5 separate regions of the Homo sapiens genome follow, and regions 1, 2, 3 and 5 are each linked to region 4. Evidence: promoter capture Hi-C in 16 types of primary human blood cells and fetal thymus (Javierre and others, 2016). All regions are on one chromosome and are shown on one strand. Each heading gives the region's core, a stretch centred on a gene start or on the middle of the fragment in contact. The rest is flanking DNA. Distances are from core to core; before and after follow the strand shown.

The links. Contacts are between HindIII fragments. The CHiCAGO score rates a contact against its expected background, and 5 or more counts as called.
Region 1: a fragment that was not itself captured here is called in contact with the fragment with the promoter of ARLN in region 4 in 1 of 17 cell types (total B cells); the score reaches 5.1 in total B cells.
Region 2: a contact is called between a fragment that was not itself captured here and the fragment with the promoter of ARLN in region 4, in 1 of 17 cell types (total B cells). The highest score is 6.3, in total B cells.
Region 3: a contact is called between a fragment that was not itself captured here and the fragment with the promoter of ARLN in region 4, in 1 of 17 cell types (total CD4 T cells). The highest score is 5.6, in total CD4 T cells.
Region 5: a fragment that was not itself captured here is called in contact with the fragment with the promoter of ARLN in region 4 in 1 of 17 cell types (total B cells); the score reaches 6.4 in total B cells.

The regions. Positions count from the first base shown.
Region 1 is chr4:118,687,208-118,689,907 of GRCh38, forward strand. It overlaps METTL14 (methyltransferase 14, N6-adenosine-methyltransferase non-catalytic subunit), which reads left to right. Exons shown (of 11, transcript NM_020961.4): 2 at 716-804; 3 at 2,163-2,250. Among named protein-coding and RNA genes, the nearest start is that of METTL14, 3.2 kb to the left of the region's middle. The HindIII fragment of the contact is 4,493 bases long and covers 1-2,700 here.
Region 2 is chr4:118,768,868-118,771,567 of GRCh38, forward strand. All of the region lies in intron 8 of SEC24D (SEC24 homolog D, COPII component), which reads right to left. Among named protein-coding and RNA genes, the nearest start is that of SEC24D, 66 kb to the right of the region's middle. The HindIII fragment of the contact is 1,538 bases long and covers 555-2,092 here.
Region 3 is chr4:120,073,766-120,076,465 of GRCh38, forward strand. All of the region lies in intron 1 of MAD2L1-DT (MAD2L1 divergent transcript), which reads left to right. Among named protein-coding and RNA genes, the nearest start is that of MAD2L1-DT, 8.2 kb to the left of the region's middle. The HindIII fragment of the contact is 2,762 bases long and covers 1-2,693 here.
Region 4 is chr4:119,299,240-119,301,939 of GRCh38, forward strand. ARLN (allregulin) reads right to left here and starts at 1,406. Exons shown (of 2, transcript NM_001001701.4): 1 at 1,097-1,406. The coding sequence starts at 1,296. RefSeq lists enhancers at 1,000-1,049, 1,150-1,379. The HindIII fragment of the contact is 14,870 bases long and covers 1-2,700 here.
Region 5 is chr4:118,740,610-118,743,309 of GRCh38, forward strand. SEC24D (SEC24 homolog D, COPII component) reads right to left here. Exons shown (of 23, transcript NM_014822.4): 16 at 332-428; 17 at 54-199. Among named protein-coding and RNA genes, the nearest start is that of METTL14, 57 kb to the left of the region's middle. The HindIII fragment of the contact is 760 bases long and covers 1,016-1,775 here.

The sequences.
Region 1 (2,700 bases), core at 62-2,561, 610 kb before region 4:
TTTCAGGATTTGGAATATTTGCATATTACTTACTGGTTGAGCATGCCAAATACCAAAACTCAAAATCGGAATGCTTCAGTGACCATTTCCTTTGAATGTCATGTCAGTACTCAAAAAGTTCCAGATTTTGGAGCGTTTTGGATTTTGGATTTTCAGATTTGGAATGCTCATTTTATATTAAATCGTGTGTATTGCTTCACAGGAAATTGGCTAAAGTGTCTTATTTTCAAATACAGATGGTTCCAGACTTACTATCATTTGACTTAACAATTGACTTTATGATGGTTTGAGAGTGATAGGCATCCAGGCTGCTCATTGACTTACGGTGGAGTTGTGTTCTGATAAACCCATCATAAGTGGAAAATATTGTAACTTGAAAACACACTTACAACGTTTATTTTGAAACAGATTTACTTTCAACTTACAATGGGTTTATCAGGACATAACCTCATCATAAATCAAGGAGCCGCTGTATAACTGAAAGCATAAAATGTTTTGCCAGCTGTCAAACTCATCTTAATTAATGCGGTTTTTTTCCAGAGTTTTTCCAGTTTGTCTTGCAAGCTGATTAATTCATTGTTTTGTGTGTGTGTGTGTGTGTGTGAATTAAGGTGTTTTTGTTTTTTAAGTATTTAATGTATTAAATGCTGCTACAAATGCCCAGAAAGGCTATCCAGTGCATTGCAATCTAATTTCTGATTTTGTCTTTTCTCAGTTGGGAGCTGAAAGTGCCGACAGCATTGGTGCCGTGTTAAATAGCAAAGATGAGCAGAGAGAAATTGCTGAAACAAGAGAAACTTGCAGGTCAGTCAGATAATTCTTTTTTTTTTTTTTTTTGAGACAGGGTTTCACTCTGTTGCTTAGGCTGGATAGGCTGGAGTACAGTAGCATGATTATGGCTCACTGCAGCCTTGACTCCTGGGCTCAAGTGGTACACCTGCCTTGGCCTCCCAAAGTGCTGAGATTACAGATATGAGCCACTGTGCCGAGGCAGGTGGATCACTTGAGCCCAGGAAGTCGGGAGTTCGAGGCCAGTCTGGCCAACATGGTGAAATCCCATCTCTACTAAAAATACAAAAATTAGCCAGACATGGTGGCGGGCTCCTGTAATCCCCGCTACTCGGGAGCCTTAGGCAGTAGAATTGCTTGAAACCGGGAGGCGGAGATTGTAGTGAGCTGAGCCAAGATTGTGCCACTGCACTGCAGCCTGGGAGACAGAGTGAGACTCCGTCTCAAAAAAAAAAAAAAAATGTGAAAGGATTACTGTTTTAATAAATAACCCTAGGTAGGTATGCAGTGTATTAAGAAAAGCATCAAAATAATGATTTTAGACACAATGGTTTTTATTGTCAGTTCATTAATTATAAAATATTTATTTTCTGAGGATAGTAAGTTCCCATTTGTAAAGTACTTAGAAAATGGAATGTTAGACTAAGAATTAGCATATATACTATAAATAAACAAGTATATTTAAACATTTTTTTGGAAATAGAGTCTCGCTCTGTCACCAGGCTTGAGTGCAGTGGCGCAATCTCGGCTCACTGCAACCTCCGCCTCCAGGGTTGAAGCAATTCTCCTGCCTCAGCCTCCCCAGTAGCTGGGACTACAGGTGCGCGCCACCACCCCCAGCTAATTTTTGTATTTTTAGTAAACATGGGGTTTCATCATGTTGGCCAGGCTGGTCTCGATCTCTTGACTTTTTGATCCGCCTGCCTTGGCCTCCCAAAGTGCTGGGATTACAGGCATGACCCACCATGCCCAGCCTAAAAATTTTTATAAAAGAAAATATACTTTATCCTAAAAGTGGTATTTATTTGGTAGTTCAGAAAGCATTTCAAAATTTTTTCGCTATTCTAGTTTTCAATTTGTACGTCTGTTTTGCTCAAAACAGATTAAAATAATACATACTATATAAATTTATTTTCAATATATCCCTTATAGCAGCTTATTTTCTCATTTGGTTGCTTTCTGATAAAAATGAAACACAGAATTATCAATCAGGTTATTTGACTTTTTGGATGACTTATAAACTGCGTAGATAGATATTCTTTAATCAGGAAAAATTTGTCTTGTTCTGTTTTTATAACCTGTTTATTATTATTAATAGATGCATTTATACATCTTGTATATATTTATGGGTAATATTTCTGTTTATTTTTCAGGGCTTCCTATGATACCTCTGCTCCAAATGCAAAACGTAAGTATCTGGATGAAGGAGAGACAGATGAAGACAAAATGGAAGAATATAAGGCAAGTAGAGAGTGAAATAAGTTTATGGTCAAAGAAAACATAAATCCAAATGATAGATTCATATCCAGGAAAACAAATTTGATGGAAAGCCTAATTTTAAGATGTGCTAAAATAATTGTCAGTGGCATATGTTATCACCAGTTACATTAAGACCATTATATCAGTTTTCTTATCTTTTTCTTTTCTTTTCCTTTTTTTTTTTTTGTGACGGAGTCTCGCTCTGTCGCCAGGCTGGAGTGTAATGGCACAATCTCGGCTCACTGCAACCTCCGCCTCCTGGATTCTAAGGGATTCTTCTGCCTCAGCCTCCCAAGTAGCTGGGACTTGGTGCACCACCATGCCCAGCTAATTTTTGTATTTTTAGTAGAGACAGGGTTTCACCATGTTGGCCAGGATGGTCTTGATCTCTTTACCTGGTGATCCACCTGCCTTGGCCTCCCAAAGTGCTGG
Region 2 (2,700 bases), core at 74-2,573, 530 kb before region 4:
GCATATGCATATTTGCCAATATGTGTGTGGAGAGAGAACATATAGTGATGGTAATAATACCTACTTATACTTACGTTAAAAACATTCTAGACAACTTGTGTCACCTATTTTGCTAAGTTTCTTCATAGATTATAAATAAAGAGAGTTGGGCCTGATTTAAAAAGTTCTAGTTTGCATAGCAGTATGCTGTCTATGTAGTTCCCCCAAAGCACATAAACTATTTCTTCAAAAATGCAGCTATTTGAAGAAATATGCAATAATGTTCATTTATTTAGGCAAGGCGGTCGATTCTACCTTTTCTGTTAGTTTATCAGAAAAAAACGTTTCACAGAATACTCACAGTGTAGCTGGCCATGCTTTGCCAGAACTGAAAAAATAAATCATTCAATTGCTTCTTCCTCATAAACATACATAGAAAGCATGATACATCTTTTACAGTTTAAAAGTAAAAAAGTTCAGCATTAAGTCTGCCTTCCCAACTCTTCTGGCTTTCGGGAGAAAACCACAGAGATACTTGTTTTTGTAAATCTCCTTAAAGATAACATTTAAAGAAAAGCTTGAGAATTGCAGGCTTTGGCATGTCAATTAAATTTTTCTTTACTGAAAAAGATACAAATAAAGCAGACTGCTTTTGAACGGAGGCCTGAAGAGCAGGAGGTCAGTGGGGTAGGGGCATCAGGCCGTTTTCTGCTTCAGTCTTAGAAAACCGAGATCCCCCATTGTCCCTGCCCAGATGTTCAAAGTGAAAGCTGAGGTTTCAGAAATCATTTGGGAGGTCTCAGAGCAGAAAAAAACAGGTTTATTAACACAATACTCAAAAGAATCGGGGAAGGATTTAAATTTTTTCTTTAATCATTCCCCTCTATTTCTGCAATGCCCTCTTCCCCGCATCTTGCCTCAAGAAAGCCAGAAGACAGATTGGATTTTCTTGTTTATGGTCGCTTCTGATCCACAGCATGGGCCTGGCTCTGGTGCCCCACTGGTAGGGGTTGTGACAAGGATTAGGTGAGTAATACATGTGCAGTGTACAGCATTGTGCCTGGCAAAAAGTAGTTGGAAAATTTTTATCCAGAACAGCCTTTCCTCTCTCAAAACCACTCAGCTCAGGACAAAGTCATCTTTGACAGGAGGGCAAGTATGAGATGGGCTTCAGGTCCTGAAGGCTACCTGGTCAGTTATTGTAAAAACATTATTGTAAAAATGATCTAGAAGACAGAGAATAAACTTTCAGGGGATTCTGATACACTCTAATGGTTAAAAGTTGAGAAGCAGAATGGATTTTTAAAACACTCCAGGAACTTTATTTAAATACATACTCACACATACAAATTCATATATCTGATGTATACACCACTCTTTCAGACAAACTTTTTGTTAGAAAGGCATATAGTGACAAATGTTTGTTCTCTTCAGCTGGTAATAGGAAGAAATTACTTGAGGAGGCAAGAGAGAAGCAAAAGCATGCAGGTACAAAAAAAAGAGATTCTTAGAACAATAAATGGAAAGCTAGAAGAGTAAGAAGCGGAAGACAACAAATATGTGCTGTTCAGGTAGCTTCCTCTGGATTAAAAGTACAATTACCAATCATGACTCCAGTTACTGCTCTGTTCCACAACTCCAACCTCTGAGATCAGGAGATGCTTTCAGAAGTTAAAATTGGGAGAAATTCTGCAGTTTCCATTCACTCAGCCAAGTTTACTTTTCTCATCCTTTTATTTTCAAAAAGTCCAAAGGCTGTAACAAATCCCCTGATTTTAGAAACCAAATAAGATCCAATTATATGCTAGACAAGCCAAAAGTAATGGAAGCAAATTTGACCTTATTATCACTGATATGATTTGCTCAAAACCAGACCCAGCCTAAAATTACTGTGAAATTGTCGGCAATGAACACCTATGCATTCCAGTCCTGACAGATTCAAACTTGCAGGACTGAAAATCAATGTCTAACAGGAAACTGGAGTCAAGTCATGACTGTGTCTAGGCTATTAAATACACTTACAGTTTTTTCAATTTTCACTTTTTTAGAAACCAGATGATGGATAGGTAAGTAAGGTCTTCAGAAAACTGAGGTGACAGTAAAGAATGTTAAAAGCTTTTTAACTGTTTACATTTTATTTTCAGGCAACAGGGCAAGGGCTTCTAAATTACACTGGCTTGTTTCATCTCTCTCAGGCCATGTTGAAAAGCATCAAAGATTTCCCTTTGCACTCTCCAGATGTCAGCTTATCTGCACCACAGTGTGCATGAGCTCATAAATAGCTAACCTTACTTTTCTTTTGAGTTCGATCTTGGTGTGCATGGCTTTAAAAAAAAATCAAGTTACTTTTCAAAAAATTGCCTAAGTTATCTTTTTTCCTTACCAAGGGAATTATATTTACCTCAGAAATATTTTCAGATTTTAAAAATTTTGTTTACAAATATACTTTAATATTTAGCTCTTAGTATATCCCTGTCTGCCCTTTCTTTTCTGTTCTTAAGTGGAAAAGTGAAAGGATAGAAAGACTGGCTATAAAAACCTCACCTGGCTATTGTTTGGTTCTGGCCCTGTGTGGCCTGAGTTTACACAACATGAAAGTGATAGGGAGGCTGAGGAAAAATGTGAATCTTTTCCTTGTATTTTTGGATTAACGGGTGTGCCAAATACTGTGCTGATACTAATTTTAATAAAAGTGCTTTAATTGAATAAAATGTATCTCTT
Region 3 (2,700 bases), core at 63-2,562, 770 kb after region 4:
TTTGACTGGAACGGTTTTCTCATAACTTGCCTTGTGTTTATAGCTCATTCAAACAATAAGGTAGTCAAGCCATATTTATCAGGTTTCAGATCAGTCATGCACATTAATTCCATTATTTGTGCTGAACTTTTCAATTTATAAATTGAATATGACTTTTTTAAAATTCTTGAATAATGTACCCTTTTAACATCAGCCAACAACAACAAAAAGGCTTACTGAACTTGAGAGCTTTTGGTTTAAACTTGGAGATCAAGTGGATTAAAAATAAATGGTGTCTTTCATGATTGCTTAATCCTAATATGTTTACAAATACAGATTCTAACTTTTTGCACTCAGGTAGATGGCAATTCTCTGTTTTAAGGATCTTTCTTAATCTCTGTTACAACATCATCAAAATAAAAGAAAATTTGAAGTTTTATTTAATTAAGAATATTTCCAAGAGTATACTTGTAGACTATAGTATGAGAAACAATAGATCATAGCATTTAGTTATTTTAAAATGTATCCACAGAATTTTGAGATTTAAATGTAAAGTGTGGTTATTAATTTGTATAGTTAGACGATAAGATAGGCTCTTTTTGTTTTTGGAATTTTACATTAAGATTCATTAATTTTGAGCTATTTTAAGAATAATAAGATTCTTATTGAGTTAGTCTACATTGAAATAAGAAGAAATTATAATACTTAACTCCCAAAAGCAGCCAAAAGTACTCATAACATAGAAGATGAACATCTTCGGGACATTGTAGGTGTAGCATTCCACACTTACAATGCTTGCCTGCCTGACTTAGGAAAAAGATCAGGAGTGTGGGAAAGGCAGGTCATAGTTCTACTTATGCCCCAAGTACACTTGCCTGTACCTCCTGGGAGACTGGAACTTGTAGGGAGATTATTTGAAGCAATCTGGAAATGTGAATGCACCTTTCTCTTCTCTTTCTCAAAGGTCTTGTTTTCCAAAATAGTGTGTACTATCAGTAACAGAAAAAGTTATGAATATACTTATGTAAATGTTGGTTATTTATCTCTAAATTATAAACATTTTCCACAGTGTTAGGTATAGCATATGTGTTTAAATCATACCAGTTGTTCGAAATTAAGAAAGATGAGAAATACTTTTAAAATAATTCTGTTTATATTATTAGAAAATAAATTATTTTTACTTTCACTAAATATATTAATAACCATATTAAGATTTTTGCAGTGAATATGTTTCATTGCTTTTAAAAATCATGGTTTAATTATTTTTGAAAGAGTGGTTTACAAGTCTAATAATTCAGCTTATTTTAATAGTTTTTTTGTTTGTTTTGGGGGGTTTGTGTTTTTTGGCCAGCAGAGCTAAAAGAGATACACCACAAAGATATGAAGGTCCAAATGGAAGAAAGTACATTGTTGACTTCTTATTCTTTTTATTTACCTGTATTAGCAATTATGCAAAGTTTTTGCTGAAAAGGGATTATTAAATTTCAATTTAATGGTACCAATTAGGTGTTCTTACAAGCTGGTTAAAAAGTGACATATGATATTTTAATAATTTTAATGAATGTGTTCAAAAACAATGGTTTAAGCAGTTTTTTAACCCTTTTTTTTTTAAAAAAATATCAAAACAATACCTTCCTATTAGTTTGGGAACTAATTAAATGCATTGTTTGACCTTTTAGTTAGTTTTGGAACTAATTTGTAATTTAGAAAAATTATAGTTTAGAGAACTCTGTTTCCAAACTTTTCAATTGTACAGATGAGACTTTTTTAAAAAATAGTTTATCCAGGCCAGGTGCGGTGGCTCATGCCTGTAATCCCAGCACTTTGGGAGGCTGAGGAGGGCGGATGACGAGGTCAGGAGATTGAGACCATCCTGGCTAACACAGTGAAACCCTGTAAAAAAAAAAAAAATACAAAAAATTAGCCGGGTGTGGTGGCGGGCACCTGTAGTCCCAGCTACTCAGGAGGCTGAGGCAGGAGAATGGCATGAACCCGGGAGCTGGAGCTTGCAGTGAGCTGAGATCGTGCCACTGCATTCCAACCTGGGTGACAGAGCGAGACTCCATCTCAAAAAAAAAAAAAAGTTTATTCAAACGTGCTCCTTCCATAACATGAGTGTCTTTTGAAAAACGGAATGGAAGAATGTTAATTTTTCTGAAGTTCTTGTTAGCACAGTACTGCAAAGAGAAAGAGCCAGTAAATCTGGCACAGCTGACTTGCATTTCCTCAGGGTACCAATCATGGCCTATGACTCCCTTTTTTTTCTAAATTTTTAAAACTGACAAATAATAATTGTACATATTTACAGGGTGCATAGTGATGTTGTGGTCTATACAATGTATAGTGATCAGATCAGGGTAATCAGCCTATCTATCATCTTAAACATTTATAATTTCTTTGTGTTTCAAACATTCAATATCCCCATTCTAGCTATTTTAAACTATTATTAACTTGTAGGATGTAGTCATCCTACAAGTGCTGTAGAACACTAGAACTTACTCTTATCTAGCTGTAATTTTGTTTCCTTTAACAAATCTCTCTGTCCTCTCTTTCCGCCTACCCTTCCCAGCCTCTAGTATTCTCTGTTGTACTTTTTACTTCTGTGGGATCAACTTTTTTAACTTCCACATATGAGTAAGAACGTGACCTTCTGACATGGAGACTGTGTGAGTGTGCAATGTCAGTCCATTTTTTGAAATCCATTTTTTTAGTAAAGCTTAT
Region 4 (2,700 bases), core at 156-2,655:
CTGTGCCTGGCCCTCTCTGTCTTCTCTAACTTACTACACCATCCAAGAAATGAGACAGTGAGGCTTAAGACACCCAAATCTTGGTGAAAATATAGGATGGGGGTTGGGGGTGTAGAAGAAGTGACTGCCTATCAAGAAGTGAGAATTTCAGAAGTAACTCATAGGCATGGTGACTAAGGAGTTAACAGTGAGTGAACAATCAACTCCAAAGTCCAGGAGAGCTGTCTAGATGGGCTACACTGCTCTTCTCCCATAGGAGCCCTGTTTCATCTCACTGCTTCTCCTTAGCTTGTCTCTTAACACCATCTCCATTTGGTGTCTGCTTCCTCCTGCCCTATTCTCTTAAGTTCCCTTCCTTTACCCTCTGCCAGAATTGTCTTTTCAGAGCGAGTGGCGATGAAAATGGAGAGCATGGGTTTTACAAGTAAACTCTACAGAATTTTGTAACTTGGTGTTTTAGGATATGTGGATGTGTGTAAGAAAAGGGCAAAGTGTCTCAGGTTTCTGGGAGGTAACGGTGGATAAAGTTGGCGTTTACTGAAATGGTAACGCTGCAAGGCAAGTAAATTTGGGTAAGAAGCTGTTAAGAGTTCAGTTTTGGACATGTTTAGTTTGAGACAGCTGCGTGGTCTGCTCATGGTTAAACAGCTGTATAGTAAAAATAGCTTTCGTTGAGCACTTACTACTGCCAGGCAACATGCAAATCACTACGATCTCAATCTTCACTACACCCCTATGACCTGGGTTACTAATGGTCCCAAATGGCAGATGAAAAAATAAAGCTCCAAAAGGCGAAATAACTTCTCCGGTCGCTTCATGGTGCTGCAGGAACTCAAGCCTAGCTGGTTTCATTCCAAATCATGAGAAAATATGACGCCAAGTTTTCTCCACACTTCTTTGGAGACTCCCACGGACGTGCTAAAGAAGGACATTTTACTCCTAGTCCTTCTCCCCCACCCACCCGACTGCGCCACTCACCAGCTGTGTGATCTTGGACATATATAAACTCTCTGGAATTCAGTCCCCTCCCCGCCCAAAAGCGAGCAAATGATCTCTAAGCTCCTTACCACCCCAATTTTGCATTCGAGATACTCACCATGGCAAAAAATACACAAAGAGAAACACCACCACATCGAAAAGGATGAAAAGCCAGAGGTCCAACCAGTAGGAGTGTTTGGGAAGCCCATTTGCCCCAGACTGAGGCCTCACATCGAAGTTCTGCCTCCCTCCCTCGCTAAAGCCTCGCCGCTCCCGGAGACCATCTCGACCATCAACACCCGGTGCGTCCACCTCCATCTCGCTCCTGCAGCTTCGTAACAACCCTAGAAACCGAAAATGCTTAAGTTCCCGGACTTTGGTGTTCGCCGCACCGGAAACTGAGCGGAGTCCGGCCGCCTGCGCAGTGCGCCGCGCCCCGGGTTCCGGAATGCACTCTGAACCTACTCTTCCCAGCGCGCAGGCGCCTGGCTCGGCTTTCCGCTGCCTCCGTGACCGCTGGCATGAAGCGCGGCCTCCGCCTTGACACTAAGTCAATGGGCCCGCCTACTTCTGCCTCGCGGCGTCCCAGGCAGATAGCTGGTTATTCAGGTTTCGTTGGAAGAAATACGTTCTCGTCCCCCTGAAAGGCCCAGTCCAGTCAGGTGATGGACTCCTCCCTGAAACTGCACGAGGTCACCTCTCCTATCCCCGTATTCCGTTTGGATCCTTATGCCAACGTGTTAGGAAGGCCCCCTCTGGTGGGTTTTGTACTGTCTCTAGCATTTGACACTTAATATTTAAACACCACCAATGAGGTGGACGTCCTACTCACGGGACTGAGTTTCCAAACGGGCCAGAGAGCAGCACGTGAGCATTTTGCAGGTACTTCAAGGGAGTGGGTTTAAGAATAACCTGGCCGCGCCCCCCTGTAATCCCAGCACTTTGAGAGGCCGAGGCGGGCGGATCACCTGAGGTAAGGAGTTCGAGACCAGCCTGGCCAACATGCTGAAATCCCGTCTCTACTAAAAAAAAAAAAAAAAAAAAAAAAATCCAAAAATTAGCCGGGCGTGGTGGCAGGCGCCTGTAATCCCAGTTACTCGGGAGGCTGAGGCAGGAGAATCGCTTGAACCCGGGAGGCGGAGGTTGCAGTGAGCTGAGATCGTGCCACTATTGCACTCCAGCCTGGGCAACAGAGCGAGACTCCATCTGGGGGGAAATGGGGGTGGGAAGAATAACCCAAAGGTTATTTGACTTTGAGTGTGAGCCTCAGCAAGAACAGAATGCTAGCAGGAAGAAAATGACCTATACTGCCTGGATTTTACCTCGTGGGTCCAATTTCAAATATTCTCTTTCTTGTCACATTATGATTCCTGAATTGTTCAGAAAATAACGGGCACCCAGACATATAAGTGGTTCTCTTGGTGCATAGTAAATGGAGATAAGACTGTAGTTGTGTTTTTACAAAGTCATTAAATCGTCGTAAAACCTCTTTGAAGGGGCAGTACTCCATCTTATAGAATTAGGAAATGAGACACAAAAGGAGTGAATTGTCTAAGGTTACTAAAAAAATTATAAAGCCTAAAATTAACTCCAAATCCAGCACTCTTAAAGCTGTTCCATAGCTTCCTAACCTTGCTCCAATTTGCCTCCAAATCAATTGCCAGGTTTTAGAGACAAAGATAGTATACGACCTTTCAAGAAAAATGCTTTGTAGATTCTGGG
Region 5 (2,700 bases), core at 146-2,645, 560 kb before region 4:
CATTGTCGGCAACAAACTAAAATAACGAAAGGTGGGAATACACTTTCAATCACCTGGATTAAGGCTCCACTGTCTTCACTGAGTTTGTCATCGTGCTTGAACTCCACGGTCACTGCCTTGTCACAATCGATGGCAGCCATTTCTACATCGGTGGTGTTGTTCATCAAGATTCCACCAAAGAAATCAGTGGCTCTGAAACCTAAAGATAAGGGAAAAAGGGAAATTTTGCTTGTCTTTATTCTACTGTTATTTTCTTTGTTGGCCTGTTATTAATTTGAAAAAGAAACAATTATTCAAGAGAGACCCGAAGAATTGTATAAATGATAATTACCTGTGCTGGTACGAACCCTCATAATAGCATCAAAGCCTATTTTCTTTTCAATATCATTTCTGAGGTCGTTCAAAAATTGTTGTCTATCCAAGTGCATCTAAAAAATAAAAGTCTAATCAATGTCCACCAGATGGCAGTAAAATACTTAAAATAACGTTCTCATTTTAATCCTGAGTTATAATAATTATTTTTAAAATCCCGATTTAGCATATTTTTTTATTATATATTATGCTTCTTTGGTTAAAGAAAATATAGCATTTTTGGACAGTGTTTCTTAACTTTTGAAACTAAAATCTCATCTATTATTTTCTTTCATTTTAACACTTGGATGAGAAAATCGGTTATTAATTGCAAATGGGAAAATTAAGAGAGCATAAGTGATCCACTCAGTGGCTTAGGGTTAGAGACAAGGTTAAGACCCAATGTATAATACCCGTTTAATGAGGCTAGGGAAAGACCTTGCAATTGGGGCTTTTTAAGTCTGACCACATTCAGAGCTTTGTGAAGCTATGTCAGGGAAAGTAGAAACCCCTTCTCCTAGCCCTGTTAACTACTCTACGATCACCGTATTTCTGAAAACTGTCCACATTCCACAACTAAGCAACATTTATATAATATGCACATGTGCACAATACTGAGCTCAGAGGTCACCCAAGAGAGGAAACAAACTAGCTGAGCTTCTAAAGCTTCTCATCTGTCAGTGAAACTCTTTAGGAAATTCTCACTACTACTTGACACATAGGAGAGACACTGACGCACGCATCTCATCCCTTCCCCCCAGTCCCAAACACGAAGGGAATGAAGGAGGAAAGGAAAGAGGGAGATCATAGACACAATCTTTACAATAATCCCTTTAGTTGCTTACATACAACTGGGTGGTGCCTGCATAGTTCTTGACCATCATTTTTATCTTACAATGTTATTGAATGGAAAAGACTATTAAAATTTGTATTGTTGAAGATAAGAAAGAAATGCTACGGCAGGATTCAGTTTTGCAACAACTGGAGTAAACAAACAACTGAATGGCAGCATAGGCAACATTAACACTCTTTTATTATAAAATATTTTACTGCCTGTTTACATCTTACTGGCTTTTCCTCTGCTGCATTATAACATTTCTTTTTTAGTAACATTGAAAGAATCAGTAATAATTATGGATACACTGAGGTACAAGTAAATATCCTTTTATATCAGAAATGACATGGGGTTGGCAAGTAACTCAAAAACTTAAATAGAAAAAAAAAAGTAATAAGCCTGGATGATTACACCACAGAGCACCCCCTGCCTACACATCACTTGGTAGGCTGCTCTTTGAAGCCAAGTCACTACCATGTAGATGATCACACCAGTACATAGCAAAGGACCTAGCAAGAACCCCAGCACAATTCACATATGCCAGGAATGGAAGATGATAAAGTCCTTTTTGGAAAAGTGGGGGGGGGAAAGCTTCTGATGAAATTTATCCCCCTAACTGGAAAAGGAGCTAAAATTGATTAGCATGGTAGGCTTCATGTACCTCAATACCCAGAATGTGGGTAGAATCAGTAAGGGTCAGAATTCTGTATGATTATTAAAAGTTTATTTTCTAGAGTGTATCTGAAAAAACATACTTTTATCCAGAAGTCTTAGAAAGAGTTGTTAAAGCTTTTTCAATTTTATTTCATTTACAATCTTTGGTCTTATCAAGTCCCTTAGTTTATAAAGAAATATGTAACTAGTCTCTATTCATAATTTTATTGATGATTAATAAAAACAGATGATGACTAACATTTGTCATTTATGTTGGAGAATACACCTTCCCAGTCCATGCCTCCACGCCTGCCCAGGCACACACATTAGAGGTACACCCCTGACCCCTTCTCCTTAGGTGATGGGGAGTGACTCATCTGATTAATAAGTTTGGGAAAAGGAACTGGGTGGGCACAGCCCAGCCTCTTCTGGGTCCTCTCCATAGGAAGGCAGCTTGCCTGCAGGAGGCACATATTTTCTGTCCCTCAATACAGTGTTTTTTTCAAGGCACAGGGGTCCACAGGAGAAACTCAGATCGTGCCCACTCTGTGCCGGGGCGCATAAGTTTGTGAAATTCAGGGGTGAATCAGCAAGCCCACTTGCCTGCAGACTCAGGCCCATTATAGTGCTGACATTTTGATTGTCTCTTGAATATCTCTCTCAATCAGGCTTGGAAAAGAGAAGTGTAATGAATTGATCCCTAAAATCCCAATAATTTAAAACAAATATGCAGTCACTTTTAAAAACATTATCTTAAGTATATTTTACATAAAATATATTTTTCTCCATTATGAAAGCTCACATTGATATTTGACTCTGAGGATGAATGAGCTCATTCTATCACCAAACACTTAGGAAGT